2 separate regions of the Homo sapiens genome follow, and region 2 is linked to region 1. Evidence: promoter capture Hi-C in 16 types of primary human blood cells and fetal thymus (Javierre and others, 2016). All regions are on one chromosome and are shown on one strand. The core of a region is centred on a gene start or on the middle of the fragment in contact, and the rest is flanking DNA. Distances in the headings are between cores, read along the strand shown. Region 1 holds the start of LINC00892 (long intergenic non-protein coding RNA 892). Region 2 has its middle 65 kb from the start of RBMX.

Region 1 (2,541 bases), core at 20-2,519:
CTGGTCTCTGCACAGCACCTCAGGTTCTCCAGTCAGCCCTTAATGTGGAACATGAAATATCAGGTGTTTATAGAACAAAAAGTTCCCTTTCTTCCACGGTGAAGGGTCTCAGGGATGGCATGCTCTGCAGGTGGGCACATAGTTGGCACCTGTTTTCCTTCAAATATCAGCCTGACATGATTGAACATTTAAGACTTGTCTGTGTGGTTCTAGTCCATTTTTTTAAACCTCCCTTGCTCTAGTCTCAGCCTGCCTTTTTTTTTTTTTTTTTTTTTTGAGACAGAGTCTTGCTGCGTCGCCAGGCTAGAGTGCAATGGCGCGATCTCTGCTCACTGCAATCTCCATCTCCCAGGTTCAAGTGATTCTCATGTCTCAGCCTCCTGAGTAGCTGGGATTACAGGTATGCACACCACGCCTGGCTCATTTTTGTATTTTTAGTAGAGACAGGGTTTCACCACGCTGGCCAGGCTGGTCTGGAACTTCTGGCCTCAAGTGATCTGCCCACCTTGGTCTCCCAAACTGTTGGGATTACAGGCGTGAGCCACCATGCCTGGCCTCAGCCTGCTTTCTGCATCTCCCCTAGAGCTCCAGGACTTTAGTAGGCTAGCTCCTGGCTCCACTGCCCAGAAACCCCTCTCCACAGCCTTTCCCCGCCTACCCTGCAATTTACCTCTACCATGATCCTTCTTCTTGACTTAACTCATTCAGGGCTCTCTCTCTCTCTTTCCAACTTCTAACTGGTGTCCTCCAGGCTGCCCTCTTCAGTTCAGACCACAGGCTTGGGCAATTTCTGTCTCTCTGATTCTTCCTGTGGTCTGTTCCTGACAACCCCTTGGGGGCTGTTTGTGAAATGTGCCCTCTGCTTCTAACTCATCTCTTAGGTATCCTCACAGGAGACTGCCTTCTTAGTGGGGGCCTGACGCAGAAGACCTCTAGTTCTCCCACAGTGTCTTCTGGGGCCAGGCCCGCTGTTTCTCACTGAGGCTCGGAGAAAGGCAATGACTTACCATGGTCATGCAGCATGTTAGCGGCAGAGCTGAGAGTACCCCAGGCCTCCTGACTTCCAGCCCAGTAGTCTTTTCCAGGAATCAAGCTGCCTCTCGGAAGACTCAGGTCTTCTAGCCAGCATCAGCTCCCACCCACTGACTGCACTGTGCACCCATCTCTGTTAGCACTTCCTTCCTGAGCCACTTCATTAAAACTGAAGCTGGCCCGTCCAGGCTTCTGACTCAGCAGCCCAGCAAAGAACATCCAGCCATGTCTGCATCTGATTAAGGAAACGCCAGGGGCAGGAAATATATATATATATATATTTTTTTCCTGGCTGAGTCAAGGGGTGCAAAAGGAGGTGGAGAGATTCAGTAAAATAGTTAAGATTTGAGTAGAAGGTAATCTTTCAGCACAAGATGTACCACAGGGACCACAGGGGTGGAAGAGAAATGGAAGGGCTTTATCAAAAGATTTAGGATTACTAGTTAAATACATTTTGGTACAGAAGTATATTACTGGCTTAGAAGGACCCCTGTGATACACTGATAGTGCAAATATCATGGCAGAAATAGGATGTCCCCAGTTTTTTTTTTTTTTTTTTTTTTTTGACAGAGTTCCACTCTTGTTGCCCAGGCTGGAGTGCAGTGGCATGATCTCGGCTCACTGCAACCTCTGCCTCCTAGGTTCAAGCGATTCTCCGGCCTCAGCCTCCTGAGTAGCTGGGATTACAGGCACCTGCCACCACGCCCAGCTAATTTTTGTACTTTTAGTAGAGACGGGGTTTTGCCATGTTGGCCAGGTTGGTCTTGAACTCCTAACCTCAGGCGATCCGCCTGCCTCGGTCTCCCAAAGTGCTGGGATTACAGGTGTGAGCCACTGCAACCGGCCCAGTTCCAGTTTTGTAAAAATAAGTTGAGAGTGTCCCTAAAGTGCTTATGAGTAGTAGCTAAAAGTTCCCCTCCATGCTCTGCACCCATGTTAATTTTTGCCCACAGGTAGATAATTGGAAAACAATTACCACAACCTTTGATAGCTATTGTGGCACGGGTGTTCCCCTGTGAATAAGTGGAGTTGGGAATCTTTCTTCATCACAGTGCCCCATGGTGAACTGCGCCATCTTGGTAAGCGTGGACCTGGGACAGTTTCCACTAGAGCACTTCCACATATAACTCAATAGCCCGTATCTTTGACATCAGGATGTTTTCTGACTTTGAGGAGAAGGATGTCCTGGTACTCCTTGTCACAGGGTGGCTGATGCCTGGAGCCCTCTCTCTCCCCTGACATCGGGGAACCAACCACATCTGAAGCAGTTTCAAATAAGCAGTAGGGTTGATATCTGTTCTGGGTTGAACAGTGTTCCCCTCCCCAAATTCATGCCCATGTGGCACCTGTGAATGTGACTTTTTTGGGGGGGAAATACTTTGTAAATGTAATTAGTGAAATTAATATAAGGTCAAACTGAATTAAGGTGGGCCCTAATTCAATGACTAGTGATCTTATAAGAAGAGGGAAATTTGAACACAGACAAACACAGAGGGAAAACAGCCATGC
Region 2 (2,541 bases), core at 15-2,514, 310 kb before region 1:
GAATAAAAGTCCTTACATTTAAATGTTTAATAACTGATTGATAACTGACAAAAATGTATAAGGACCTCAGCTTTCAATCAACTTATGATAATAGCTTAGACTTTGAATAGTATTCTATTCTCAGTAGCTGAAGAAAGGTTTATTAAATGTCTTCAGAGTACATTTCACTTTTTTTGTTTTTTTTTTTTTTGAGACAGTATCACTCTGTCACCCAGGCTGGAGTACAATGGCGTGATTTCGGCTCACTGCAACCTCTGTCTCCCAGGTTGAAGCGATTCTCCTGCCTCAACCTCCCAAGTAGCTGGGACTACAGGCACTTGCCACCATGCCTGGCTAATTATTGTATGTTAAGTAGAGATGGGGTTTCACCATGTTGGTCAGGCTGGTCTCGAACGCCTGACCTCAGGTGATCCGCCCGTCTCTGCCTCCCAAAGTGCTGGGATTACAGGTACGAGCCACAATGCCCGGCCCCTTCAGAGTGCATTTCATTCCTTTCCTCAGATTACACTTCTGTATTTCATCCAAAGATTAGAAGACTGGACTATACTTATTGGACTAGTAAATTGCCTGTTTTCACCAATCGTACTTTGGGTAAACTACAGGATGTAGGATCAAGTAATCCTGACCTCTAGCTAGATGATTCAAGGCACACACACACATTTCTAACATAAATGGTTCTCATTTTCTTTACAGTGACTCTGAGGCAGAAAATATAATAGACCCTTAAGAAAGAAAGCCAGAATGGTATAGTAGAAAAACTGAGTTTGGGGGCCAGACAGACATGGTTTTGAATATCACTTGCACCACCTGCTAGCTGTGAACCTGAGAAAATTACTTGAGCTTGCTGGGCTTCAGTAGCCTCATTTATAAAATGGAGATAACCACTAAAGGTGATACATAGGGACAAAAGCGAGGTATTCCTAATGTGGAATTGCTTTCAGAATGAGATTAGGAAGAATCATTTTATAATGGCTGTCAGGCCATCTACAGAAATGACACAAACCAAGCACAATTTGTAAATTTTCGAGATTTGAGACCTAGCCCCAAATACAGTAATTAGGGTTTGGTCTCAGGAAAGAATATCTGAAGCTATAAAAAATAAGCCTTAGATGAAACTGAGTGTAACAAAACCTGGATCAAAAATATGATATCCAGCTGGGCACAGCGGCTCACGCCTGTAATCCCAGCACTTTGGGAGGCCGAGACGGGCGGATCCTCTAAAGTCAGGAGTTTGAGACCAGCCTGGCCAGCATGGTGAAACCCCATCTCTACTAAAAAAAAAAATACAAAAATTAGCCAGGCATGGGGGCAGGTGCCTGTAATCCCAGCTACTTGGGAAGCTGAGGCAGGATAATCATTTGAACCCGGAAGGCAGAGTTGCACTGAGCTGAGATCATGCCATTGCACTCCAGCCTGGGCAACAGAGTGAGACTCCATCTCAAAAAAAAAATAAATATATATATATATATACACACACACACACACACACACACACACACGTATACAAATATATATATATGATACACAGTCTAAAAAAGACTAAAAATGGAAATACATAGATCTACATAGTCATAAAGGGTTTTCCCTATTAAAAGAATAGCCTGAAATCAGTCCTTTGGTGAAGCACCACTAATACAGTCCGGAGCTAAGAGTCACTGACCCATGAACACAAACATCTGGTCCAGGGGCAAGTAAAGCACTAGAGTGTCATGAATATCTTTTAAATGGCTTTGTTTTTCATATTTCATATCATTCTTTTTCAATATACTAAGTAACCCATCCTGTAATCTTAACTGCATGTCTAGAGAATTAGATGAAGCAAAAATCATATTTATAAGCACTCAAAGATTTGAGGGCCTACTGTGTATAAAGCAGCATGCTTAGAAATGAAAGATACCAAAAATATAATCTACATGACCTTTTTGTCTGAAAAAAACTTTAAAAATAGAAGATGGAAACAAACTAGAGAAGTTTGAAATCAGAGAGGAGTGATGCAGCTAGCAAATGCCTGGTCAGGGATGTGGAGACTTACTACTCAAAATGTAAAGAGGAATAAAGGAAAAATAGGAGAAAAATAAAAAGGAGAAACAGTGATGCTTCCCTTTTGATTTACTTACTCAGCATACAATTTATCCCTTGGCTTCTGTGTAATGAATAATAGGTAATCTTTATGGAATTGTCTATACATGTGTATGCATAATAAAACCATTCACTCACAGTTGGGAAAAATTACTGATGTGCATCTCTTTCTATTCATTTTTGTAACCCTAGTGCCTGGTACATAATATGCCCTTTTAAGTGTTTCTAGAATGAATAAATTCTATTTAAAGCTGAAAAACTTTTTATTTTATTGTTTTATTTTATTTTAAGACAGAGTCTCTTATTTTGAGATGGAGTCTCACTCTTTCACCCAGGCTGGAGTGCAGTGGCGTGATCTCGGCTCACTGCAACTTCCACCTCCCAGGTTCAAGCGATTCCCATGCCTCAGCCTCCCGAGTAGCTGGGATTACAGGCATCCACCACCACGCCTGACTAATTTTT

What was found. The method cuts DNA at HindIII sites, captures the fragments that hold promoters and counts their contacts. A CHiCAGO score of 5 or more calls a contact.
Region 2: a contact is called between a fragment that was not itself captured here and the fragment with the promoter of LINC00892 in region 1, in 1 of 17 cell types (neutrophils). The highest score is 5.7, in neutrophils.

What each region holds. Positions count from the first base shown.
Region 1 is chrX:136,638,271-136,640,811 of GRCh38, reverse strand. It overlaps LINC00892 (long intergenic non-protein coding RNA 892), which reads right to left and starts at 1,269. Exons shown (of 3, transcript NR_038462.1): 1 at 1,008-1,269; 2 at 1-38. The HindIII fragment of the contact is 12,266 bases long and covers 1-2,541 here.
Region 2 is chrX:136,944,088-136,946,628 of GRCh38, reverse strand. No RefSeq gene overlaps it. Among named protein-coding and RNA genes, the nearest start is that of RBMX, 65 kb to the right of the region's middle. The HindIII fragment of the contact is 5,509 bases long and covers 1-2,541 here.